2 separate regions of the Homo sapiens genome follow, and region 2 is linked to region 1. The links are contacts of gene promoters, found by promoter capture Hi-C in blood cells and fetal thymus (Javierre and others, 2016). All regions are on one chromosome and are shown on one strand. The core of a region is centred on a gene start or on the middle of the fragment in contact, and the rest is flanking DNA. Distances in the headings are between cores, read along the strand shown.

Region 1 (6,200 bases), core at 3,666-6,165:
CCCAGCACTTTGGGAGGCCGAGGAGGGCAGATCACCTGAGGTCAGGAGTTTGAGACCAGCCTGACCAACATGGCAAAACCCCGTCTCTACTAAAAATACAAAAATTAGCCGGGCGTGGTGGTGGGCGCCTGTAATCCCAACTACTCGGGAGGCTGAGGCAGGAGAATCACTTGAACCCAGCCGGCGGAGGTTGCAGTGGGCCGAGATCGCACCATTGCACTACTCCAGCCTGGAAGACAGAGCCAGACTCCGTCTCAAAAACAAAAACAGAAAAAAAAACTTAAATGGAAAAAAAGTCATCAAATGGGATGCAAAGTTTGATTAAAATTGCTAAATATATACAGATCTATGTGCACATAAAATATTGGAAGGGAACTTGCAAACATTAATAGTTATGTTACTTATGTGTTCATGTTGAGTGAACTTTTTATTTATTTACATTTCTTTTCAAACTTTTCTGTAATATGCCTATTTCCTCCTTTATGACAAAACCTATTGGAAAAACAAACCATAATGTCTCAATCAGGGAAGAATAACTAGAACAATCATTCTTTTTTGTTCTATTTATTCTTCTTTCTTAAAGTTTCACCATTTGCGTGGGCTCGGGTCCTCAGCCTCATTTTGCTGATAAAATTTAAGAGCTTAAAGCAGTAGCTTTTAGTTTTGTGGGTATTTTCGCTGAGAATTAAGGCTGAAAGAGGAAGTTATCATCTTGGAACTTAGGGGAAAATTCTACAGAACAGTATATCAGACTTTTAGGATAAATCTCCTTCTTTCTAGTTGTTTTTCTTGTTAAACTTTTCTGAGAATTTGAGGCTCAACCTTTTAATTCTGGGAGCTGGCTATAGTATTTGGAGGCCGTGACTGAGTTCAGGAGGTGGATGCTGGATAATGGGAGGGTGGATGATAAGGTTTAGGGATGATATTGACATTCAAGTTCTGATTCGATTAGAGAAAGAGTGAATATAGTATTTGTGGCCAAACGATAGTCGATTGAATTAAAGTTTAGTTGGTTGGATCATTTAACTGAAAAAAAGAGGTGGAGAGGCTATCTTATTTATGTTAAGTGTAATAAAGGTAATTATATGGGAAACCTGAGAGAGGAGACTATTGGTAATTTTGTCCATCTGTGGGTGGTGATGGTGATGGTGGGTGCTCCAGGCTTCCTCTTGGAGATGACATTTGTGCTGATCTTCAGGGATAGCACAGCGAAGGGCAGGACTTTCTAGAAAGAGTACGTCCAGAGGTAACAGTTATGAAAGGGCAACTTTTTTTTTAGATGAAGTCTTTCTGGGTCACCAGGCTGGAGTGCAGTGGTGCGATCTTGGCTCACTGCAACCTCCATCTCCTGGGTTGAAGCAATTCTTCTGCCTCAGCCTCCCGAGCAGCTGGGACTACAAGGCATGCACCACCACACCCAGCTAATTTTTTTTATTTTTATTTTTATTAGAGACGGGGTTTCACCATGTTGGCCAGGATGGTCTCGATCTCTTGACCTCGTGATCCACCCGCCTCGGCCTCCCAAAGTGCTGGGATTACAGGTGTGAGCCACTGCGCCTGGCCTGAAAGGGCATCTTCTATTCAGGCGCAGTGAAAAAGCTGGGTGAATGCTGCAGGGGTCCACCTATTAGAGACCTTAGAGGACAAACAAAGAGATTCTGATGTGGCTGTTACAAGGGAAGTTGGAGTTTTTCAAGTAGGAGAGTAATGTTATCAGATTCATTTTTTATGAAGATCTCTGAGGATATTGTATAGAAGTTAGACAAGAACAAGAATACAGGCATACCTCGGAGATACTGTGGGTTCAGTTCCAGACCACCACAAAGACAGTCACACAAATTTTTAAATTTTCTAGTGCATATAAAAGTTATGTTTATACTATACTATAGTCTAGTAAGTGTGCAGTAGCATTTTGTCTAAGAAAATAATGTGCATAATTTCATTAAAAATACTTAATTGCTAAATAATGCTAATGATCCTCTGAGCATTCAGTGAGCTGTGCTCTATTTGCTGGTGGAGGGTCTTGCCTCAGTGTTGATGGTTGCTGACTGATCAGGGTGGTGGTTGCCAAAGGCTGGGCCTGTGGCAGTTTCTTAAATCAATATTGAGTTTGTCACATTGATTGATTCTACCTTTCACGAAAGATTTCTTTGTAACATGTAATGCTGTTTGAATCAACTTCTTCCAAACTTCTGTTAATGTTGATATTTTACCTCCTCCCAAAAACTGTGAATGTCCTTCATGGCACCTACAGTGGTGAATGCCTTCCAGAAAAATTTCAATTTACTTTGCCCAGATCCATCAGAGAAATCATTACATACAGCAGCTATAACCTTTGGAAATGTATTTCTTAAATAATAAGACTTAAAAGTCAAAATTACTCCTTGATCTATGGGTTGCAGAATGGATGTTGTGTTAGCAAGCATGAAATCAACTTTAATCTCCTTGAGCATCTCCATCAAGCTCTTAGGTGACCAAGTGCATTGTTAATGAGTAATAATATCTTGAAAGGAATAATCAGAGCAGTAAGTCTCAACACTGGGCTTAAAAATATTCAGTAAACCATGCTGTAAACAGATGTGCTGTCCTCCAGGTTTTGTTGTTCCATTTACAGAGCACAGGCACAGTAGATTTAGCATAATTTTTAAGGGCACTAAGATTTTCAGAATGGTAAGTGAGCATTGGCTTCAACTGAAAGTCTCCAGCTACACTAGCCCCTAGCAAGAGAGTCAACCTGTCCTTTGAAGCCATGAAGCCAGGCATTGACTTCTCCTCTCTAGATATAAAAGTCCTAAATGGCATCTTCTTCCAATAGAAGGCTATTTTGTCTACATTGAAAATGTATTGTTTAGGGTAGCCTCCGTCATCAGTGCTCTTAGCTAGATCTTCTGGATAACCTGCTGCAGCTTCTCCATCACACTTGCTGCTTCACCTTGCACTTTATGTTATAGAGGTGACTTCCTTCCTCAGCCTCATGAACCAACCTCTGCTACCTTCAGACTTTTCTTCTGAAGCTTCCTCACCTCTCTCAGCTTCACAGAATTGAAGAGACTTAGGGCCTTGCCCTGGATTAGGCTTTGGTTTAAGGGAATGTCGTGGCTGGTTTGATCTTCTATCCAGACCACTAGAACTTTCTCCATATAAGCAATAAGGCTGTTTTGCTTTCTTATCATTCATATGTTTACCAGGAAAGCGCTTTCAGTTTCATTCAAGATTTTTTTCCTTTGCATTCACAACTTAGCTAACTGTTTGGCAAAAGAGGCCTAGCTTTTGGCCTATCCTGGCTTTTGACATACTTTCCTCACTGAGCTGAATCATTTCTAGCCTTTGATTTAAAGTGAGAGACGTGTGACACTTCTTTTCACTTGAACACTTAGAGGCCATTGTAGGGTTATTAATTGGCCTAATTTCAATATTGCTGTGTCTCAGGCACTAGGGAAGCCTAGGGACAGGAAGAGAGATGAAGGAACAGCCAGTCAGTGGAGCAGTCAGAACATACATAACATTTATCAGTTAAATCAATAAACGTCTTTGTCTTCTACTGCACACTTCGGAGTGCCCCCAAACAATTACAATAACCTCACAGAACGATGATCACAGATCACCATAGCAGATATCACAATGAAAAAGTCTGAAATATTGCAAGAATTACCAAAATGTGACACAGGAACACGAAGTGAGCACATGCTGCTGGAAAAATGGAGCCAGTAGGCGCTTGACGCTGTGTTGCCACAAATCTTCAATTTGTAAAAACAAAAACAAAACACACAGTATCCCAGAGCTCAATAAAATAAGATATTCTTGTATTCTGGTGATGGGGCAACAATGAGAAGGCTTTAGATTAAAAAAAATGCTAATTTCCTAGATTAAGGCAAGTGGTGGGGAATGGGAGAAAAAGGAAAGTGTGAAAGGCTCTTCTGTAATTGATTACCTGTGGAGGAACGTCATTCCAGGAAAAGGCCTAGGTTTCTGGCTTGGACAATTTGATGAGGGCTCACACCGTGCTGTTCTCCTCTGGATATGTGGGTGCCATATGTAATTATCATATGATTCACGCTTCTTGGTAAGGTTATGCTCACAGGCATTGTTGCTCTTAGGCGGGAGGAGGCTGAACCGCAGTATGTATTTCACAACCAGCTTTTCCAAACTAGGTCCCAGGAAGCACTGGTTTCGGCGAGTGTTACCAGATCTCCTGCAGGGGAGAAACGGTCACGAAACATGAACTGGTCTGCCCTGCTCTTGGAGAGTTACAGTGGAAACTGGCATGTTAGAGGCTCACAGTAAAGACACTGCTACACTTTAACTCAGTGTCCCATGGTTATTAGAGCTTAGAACCCGGGGGAAACTGCTGTATAGAAGAGGTCAAACAAGCTGAGTGCAGGTTTTGTCACGAAACTGGGGGGCGAGTAGGGTTCTATTATCAAAGAATGGTTGTGTTGGGGCCATAAGAAAGAATTACAGGCAGTGGTGCGCAGGTAATGTTCACGAGACGCCACAGCGGGGTAGCATCAGAGGCGGGAGGAGGAGGGTTGGAGAGCAGGGCCGTGTTGCAAGGCTCTCTGGGTGGCCACAGCAGCTTGCGCTGCGCCCACATTGCTTCTGCGTGTTTACAGTTGGGCACGAGAAGGCTCAGCACGCACGCACAGCAGGTGGGGGCCCGCCCTGCCCACAGCGTGAAAACAGGAGCCCCGGCCAGCCACGGCTGGGCAGGGCCAGAAGCGCCTCCTCCAGGATCCTCCCCGCGCTGGCCCGCCCCACAGGAGCACCGCCCCTACCAGGAGCCCGGAGCTCTTCCCAGGGCCCGCCTCCCCGCCAGGGGGCGATCCACCTCCACTTCCTGTTTCCGCAGCCGCCCTACCAGGAGCCTGGCACTCTCCTCAGGGCCCGCCTCCCCGCCAGGGGGCGCACCGCCTCCACTTCCTGTGTCCACGGCTGTCGCGAGAGCCCGGGGCGAGTGGGCCTCTGCTCGTGGGTGGTTCTCGTGGAGGTCAGCTCCCGCGTGTCTCCGCTCGACAGGGTGCTTGGGCAGGTAAGGGTCCGCTCAGTAGCCCAACCCTCTCTGTATGCAGCTCCCCAAATTCAGCGCTGCGCTCAGGCATGGCAGCCACCCGTTACGTGGGGCCGTTCGCATTTGCATTTATTGAGGTCAAATAAAATGCTGGAAATTGGTGCCTGGTGACACTGTCAGGTTGGTGGTTACCCTAGCAGGTCGGCCCAGCCCCTGAACGCTTCCATCACTGCCGAAAGCCCTGTGAGGAGGCGCAGAGCTGAGCATTCCCCGCCGTTGCGTGGGCCCCCCTCTACCTGCCGCGTTTTTCCTCTTTGCTGCAGAGCCCATCGGGTAGGCGCGGGCCATGGCGCAGTACAAGGGCACCATGCGCGAGGCAGGCCGTGCCATGCACCTCCTCAAGAAGCGCGAAAGGCAGCGGGAGCAGATGGAGGTGCTGAAGCAGCGCATCGCCGAGGAGACCATCCTCAAGTCGCAGGTGGACAAGAGGTTCTCGGCGCATTACGACGCCGTGGAGGCCGAGCTGAAGTCCAGCACGGTGGGCCTGGTGACCCTGAACGACATGAAGGCCCGGCAGGAGGCCCTGGTCAGGGAGCGCGAGCGGCAGCTGGCCAAGCGCCAGCACCTGGAGGAGCAGCGGCTGCAGCAGGAGCGGCAGCGGGAGCAGGAGCAGCGGCGCGAGCGCAAGCGTAAGATCTCCTGCCTGTCCTTTGCACTAGACGACCTCGATGACCAGGCCGACGCGGCCGAGGCCAGGCGCGCCGGAAACCTGGGCAAGAACCCCGACGTGGACACCAGCTTCCTGCCAGACCGCGACCGCGAGGAGGAGGAGAACCGGCTCCGAGAGGAGCTGCGCCAAGAGTGGGAGGCGCAGCGCGAGAAAGTGAAGGACGAGGAGATGGAGGTCACCTTCAGCTACTGGGACGGCTCGGGCCACCGGCGCACGGTGCGGGTGCGCAAGGGCAACACGGTGCAGCAGTTCCTGAAGAAGGCGCTGCAGGGGCTGCGCAAGGACTTCCTGGAGCTGCGCTCCGCCGGCGTGGAGCAGCTCATGTTCATCAAGGAGGACCTCATCCTGCCGCACTACCACACCTTCTACGACTTCATCATCGCCAGGGCGAGGGGCAAGAGCGGGCCGCTCTTCAGCTTCGATGTGCACGATGACGTGCGCCTGCTCAGCGACGCCACCATG
Region 2 (6,141 bases), core at 1,260-3,759, 87 kb after region 1:
CCTCTCAAAGCATTGGAATTACAGGTGTGAGCCACCATGCCTGGCCTCCTATGTTATCTTTTAGAGTTTGATAGTTTTATATTTTACATTTAGGTCTGTGATCCATCTTGAGTTAATTTTTAGAAAGGGTGTAAGGTCTGTGTCTAAGGTCTTTTTTGTATGTGGATGTCCAGTTGATCCAGTATCATTAGTTGAAAAGACCATCTTTGCTCCATTGAATTGTCTTTGTCCTTTGTCAAAGACAAGTTGACTCTATTTATGTGGATCTATTTCTGAGATCTCACTTGTATGTCATAGATCTATTTCACTAATCTTTCATCAATATTACACTGTCTTGATTATTGTAACTTTATAGTAAATCTTGAAGTTGTATAGCATTATTTCTCTGACTTTATTATTCTCCTTCAATATTTTTGTTGACTATTCTGGGTCTTTTGCCTTTCCATATAAACCCTAGAATCAGTTTGTTGATATCTACAATATAACTTGCTGGGATTTGATTGGGATTGTGTTGAATCTGTAGATCAGGTCTGGAAAAACTGAAATCTTGCCAATGTTGAGTTTTTCTAGTCACAAACATGGATTATTTCTCAATTTATTTAGATCTTTTTTGATGTCTTTCAACAGAGTTTTGTAGTTTTCTTCATATAGATCTCGTACTTGGTTTGTTAGATTTGAACCTAAATCTTTCTTTCTTTTTGGTGCTAAATAATTTAAATGACAATTTGTTTTAAATTTCAAATTCCAATTGTTCATTATTGGTATGCAGGAAGGCAATGGATATTTTTATATTAATCTTGTATCCTGCAGGCTTACTATAATTGTTCAGCAGTTTTAGGACTTCCGTTGATCCTTTGGGATTTTCTACATAGACAGTCATGTAATGTACAAAAAAAAAAGATGGTTTTGTTTCTTCCTTTCCAATCTATTTACAATCAGCTCTTCATATATGTGGGTTCTGCATCCACGAATTCAACCAACCATGGATCAAACTATTTGGGAAAAGACAATTTTAAAAATACCACTTAAAAAACAATACAGCATAACAACTATTTTTCATAGCATTTTTAGGTAGTATAATCTAGAGGTAATTTAAAGTTTGTGGGAGGGTGTATGTAGGTTACATGCGAATACGACACCATTTTATATAAGGAACTTAAGGATCCATGGATTTGGGTATGAAAGACAGGTTCCTGGAATCAATTTTCCATAGACACCCAGGGACTGTGTTGTCTCTTTCCTTTTCTTGTTTTATTGTGTAAGCTAGGACATCGCAACAATGTTGAGTCTAAATGGTGTAAGAGGGGATGTCCTTGCCTTATTCCTGATGTTACCAGGAAAGCATCTACTTTCTCACTCTTAGTATGAGGTTAGCTGTAGGGTTTTGGTAAATATTTCTTATAAAATTAAGGAAATTACCCTTTGTTCCTGGTTTGTGGAGAGTTTTTTTTTTTTTTTTTTAGTCATGAATGAGTTTGAATTTTATCAAATACTTTTTCTGCATCTATTGATATGATCATATATTTTATTCTTTAGCATGTTCATGTGATAGATTGCATTAATTGACCTTCAAATGGTGAACCAGGCTTGCATGCCTGAAATAATACACTGCTGGATTTGATTTGCTAATATTTTGTTGAGGATTATTCTGTCTACGTTCATCAGTGATATCAGTCTATAGTTTTCCTTTCTTGTAATGTTTTTGGTTTTTATATTAGAGTAATACTGGCTTCGTAGGATGAGTTAGAAATTATTCTCTCTTCTTTTACATTCTAGAAAAGATTGTAGAGAATTGGTATAATTTCTTCCTTACATGTTGGTAGAATTCACCTGTGAATCTATTTGGGCCTGCTGCTTTCTGTTTTGGAAGTTGTTTTTGTTTTGTTTTGTTTTGTTTGTTTTTTTGAGACAGGGTTTCACTCTGTCACCCAGGCTGAGTGCAGTGGCACTATCATGGGTCACTATAGCTTCAAACTCCCAGGCTCAAGCGATCCTCCCACCTCAGCCTTGCAAGTAGCTGGGACTGCAGGCACATGTCACCATGTCCAGCTAATTTTTTTAGTTAGTGTGGAGACAGGGTCTCACTATGTTGCCCAGGCTGGTCTTGAACTCCTGGACTCAAGGGATCCTCCTGCCTCAGCCTCCCAAAGTGCTGTAATTACAGGTGTGAGCCACCATGCCTAGCTGGAAGCTTATTGATTAAAATTTAGCAGACTTAGTTCTATTGAGATTACCTATGTGTCTTCTGAGAGTCTGGATAGAGGAATTGATACAAGGAATTGATCCATTTTATCTAGGCTATCAAATGTGTGGACGTAGAGTTGTTCATAATAATCCTTTATTATCCCTTTAATGTTCATGGCATCACAATGGCCCATCTTTATTTTCTGGTGTTAGTATTGTTTCTACTGTCTTCCTTAGTCTGGCTAAAGGTTTGTCAAGTTTATTCATCTTTTCAAAGAATCAACTTTGGGGTTGATTTTCTGCTTTCAATTTCATTGATTTCTGTTCTAATTTTTATTATTTCTTTTTGTCTGCTTATTTGGATTTCTGTTCTAATTTTTATTTTATTATTATTATTTCTTTTCATTTGCTTATTTTGGATTTCTCTTTTTTCTAGTTTCCTAAGGTAAATTGGGAACTAGATTATTGATTTTAGGTATATCTTTTTTCTAATAGTAAATTCGAAACTAGATTATTGATTTTAGATATATCTTTTTTCTAATATGTTCATTCAGTGCTATGAATGTCCCCCATCACTGTTTTTACTGCATTCCACAAATTTTGAAAAGTTGTATTTGCATTTTTATTTAATTCAAACCACTTTTAAGCTTCTCTTGAGACCTATTCCTTGACCCATGTGTTATTTCGAAGTGTATTGTTTAATCTCCAAGGATTTTGGGATTTTCCGACTATCTGTTTCTTTTTTTTAATTTTAACTTCATTGTGGTCTTACAGCAAACTTTGTATGATTTCTAGTCTTATAAATTTGTTAAGGTATGTTTTATGGCCCAGAGTGTGGTGTATCCTGTTGAATGAGCTGCATGAATTTGAGAAGAATGCTTACTCTGCTGTTGTTAGATAAATTGTCTACAATGTCAATTACATCCAGTTGATTGATGGTTCTGCTCAGTACAACTATGACCTCACTGATATTCTGCCTGTTAGATTTGTCAATTACTGATATACTGGTGTTGAAGTCTCCAGCTATAACATGGAATTCATGTATTTCTCCTTGTATTCTATCTGTTTTTGCTTTATATTTTGATGCTTTGTTGCTGGGTGAATATACATGAAGAATTGTTTTGTCTTGTTGGAGAACTGACCCCTTTATAGCCATGTGATATCACCTAAACTCAACATGAGAAACATAGCTTCATATTGGGACATATAACAGTGAGCCAAATGGTGCTACCAATACAGAAGCAGCATAAGATACATCTTCTCACTCATGGGACTTAAAATCTACTTCACAATACAAAACTCAAAAAAAAAAAAAAATGAACACGCAAGGCAGTGCCTAATCAAGCAGGTCCCAGAGACGTTCAAAGAAGGGGAAGTCACAGAAGGAGGAAAGTGAGATCTTAGTGGATGGATAAGACAATGGGCAATGACAGGGCAATGAGCACAGTCCATTCAGAGACACTGGAAATTTCATTCTACAGTTTACTCACATTTATAATTTTGAACTATCACTCTGGTGTTGGGAGAAATTGACTTAAGGTAGGGCAGTGATTTATTTTAAAAATAACTATGCTACAATAGCTTTAAAATATTGGACCAGGCGGTCTACCCCAAATTACAAAAGAATTACCTATCAATTTGTTTATGAATTTATTGGTAGCCACACATTTTTTTTCTAGAAAAAAAGTTCCATGGAGTGTTTGGATATCAATCAGGCCACAGTATAACTGAAACTCTATTACCCTAGAAACACCCTGCCACACAGGACAGGACCATTTTGGAAAGCTATGAAGACTAGACACTTCTCCTCCCTCTAACTTCTCAGCCAGGACACCGTCTCTGTTCAAGGCCAATGGCGGTGGATTTCACCATGGTTGCCCTCCACAGCAAAGGTTGGCTGGCGAAGGTTTATGCAGCCATGTCTGGGGGCAGCAGTGGGGAAAGAAGAGCTCATTAGCACAGAACTGAGCTCATCTGCAAGAAGTAAACTTCTCTGTTGCTGGTAGTCAGGTCCACAGGAGAAGGTTCTAGGCCCTAGGGCCACAGTGGAAAGGTATTCACCAGGAGAATGACTCACAGGTTGTTCTTACTACAAAAATGCAAAAATTAGCCAGGCGTGGTGGTGCATACCTGTGATCCCAGCTACTCAGGAGGCTGAGGCAGGAGAGTCACTATAACCTGGGAGGCAGAGGGTGCAGTGAGCCAAGATTGCTCCACTGCACTCCAGCCTAGGTGACAGAGCGAGACTCCATCTCAAAAAAAAAAAAAAAAAAAAAAGAAAGGAAGAAAAAAAATCAGTACTTTAAGATGACTGCACAGAGTAGCTTGAATTTTGAGGACTCTTGTACTGTTTGAGAACAGATCCCTCCTATCCCCTGCCCAACCTCTGAAGGGGTAACATTTCCCCAAATCCTACTGAAAGTCAGCTATACACACCAGTGGTGAGCATGTCATTTCAATAATGTGCAGGACAATATCAATGCCCAGTGGAACCCATCAGTTGGGATTCAACACATGGCCAGTGGCAGAGCAGGTTGAGCTGCTCCCCTCCCCACAGTTTCTATTCTCAAGTAAGGCAGGCCGTGGTCTAGTCACTCCAGGATACAGGGTAAGAAAGGAGGGAAAGGTAGACTCAGCTGCGGCAGGCATTCATGCAGGCCAAACACTGCACACCCTAAGGGCAATCTCAGATAACCTACAAATCTACAATGTGACATTCTCTATGTGTTCTTCTCTTCATCAACCAACAACTATGTAGATTTCTTATTGAATGACAGAATACATGTGGAATAATAACTGTGCCCCCTTAGCACAGTGCCTATTGAATGAAAGATGGTAAATTAACATTAGTTTCTTTTCCTTCTTTGTGCTTTTTAGGGGAGGTGGGGAGTAGGAGTTAACTCAGCCAACTGTTATAAAGGTACAATTTCTCTGGAATTTGTTAATTGAGCTATCGCTCCAGCATAAAGAATCAGGACTGGGAGCAGCTATTGCCAGCTGTGTTTGGGAGCGACCTAAGCTGATTTACCATTATCATGATGATGACTTTACAAATCTATTCAGTATTTTATGTATTTAATGCCCTTAATGCTGGGTTGGGCTACAATAGTGATTAGTTGCACTAATTAGTTGAATTCATAGAGAAGTTTTTGGAGTTAGTTATGAGAGGATCGTATGTAAATTCATGCTAACTGTATGTAAATAGGTTTCTAATTCCTCTAGGAAAAAAAAATCCACAACACAACTGCCTTGTGCTCCCCACACCCCATTCTGACCATCTGATGACACTGGCACATGGAGATGCCATTCATGACGACGGAGCAAACCCTGCTGCTCTGAGGGCATCGGGTCACCCAGATGGCCACCAGGCTCCAGTGGTGTTCCTGAAGAGGGTGGAAGGAGAAGGCTGCTGCTCCTGGAACTCGAAGCTTTAACGAAGGTGACACAGGAGGGAGCCCCAGGCCACTCAGTCTCTAATCCTGGCTGGTGCCAGTCAGTGCAGGAGACCAGACCTGCCCTGGCTAAATACCTGCAGGTGGATCTCAGAGCAGGGACGCTGAGCCCAGGGGACAGCAGCCACATGGGCCAGGCTCCATCTGTGGAGCTGACATAACTGCCATGTGCTGGACATTAATGATTTGCTTCAGGGAAAGACAAAGTGGATGCTCCTCATCAAGTGTCAGGGCCCCTGCTCTAGAATCTGTGACTGTTCTACCCAGAACAGAAGAAATGTCCCTTCAGTCACTAGCCGGGTACCTTGGGTTTGCCCTGGGGCTACGCATAAGCTCTGAATCCAGTGAGTTGCACATCACCGGAACAGGAGGCAGAGCAGGCTCTCCACTGACGGCATGGGAGATAAATAACGCTGCACTCAGCCATCCTCGGCCAGTCTCCTTTGAGGTTTGTCTGCTTATCTCAGCATGAATTAAGAAGAAATTCCCATGTCGGAAAATGAGT

Evidence for each region. Contacts are between HindIII fragments. The CHiCAGO score rates a contact against its expected background, and 5 or more counts as called.
Region 2: a contact is called between a fragment that was not itself captured here and the fragment with the promoter of FAM50B in region 1, in 1 of 17 cell types (endothelial precursors). The highest score is 5.3, in endothelial precursors.

Annotation. Positions count from the first base shown.
Region 1 is chr6:3,844,458-3,850,657 of GRCh38, forward strand. FAM50B (family with sequence similarity 50 member B) reads left to right here and starts at 4,916. Exons shown (of 2, transcript NM_012135.3): 1 at 4,916-5,029; 2 at 5,332-6,200. The coding sequence starts at 5,355. It overlaps LOC107986557 (a long non-coding RNA gene), which reads right to left and starts at 4,909. Exons shown (of 3, transcript XR_001743931.2): 1 at 4,859-4,909; 2 at 3,932-4,192; 3 at 231-1,635. RefSeq lists a silencer at 4,590-4,709 and an enhancer at 4,980-5,099. The HindIII fragment of the contact is 3,705 bases long and covers 3,013-6,200 here.
Region 2 is chr6:3,934,099-3,940,239 of GRCh38, forward strand. No RefSeq gene overlaps it. Among named protein-coding and RNA genes, the nearest start is that of TGILR, 25 kb to the left of the region's middle. The HindIII fragment of the contact is 640 bases long and covers 2,190-2,829 here.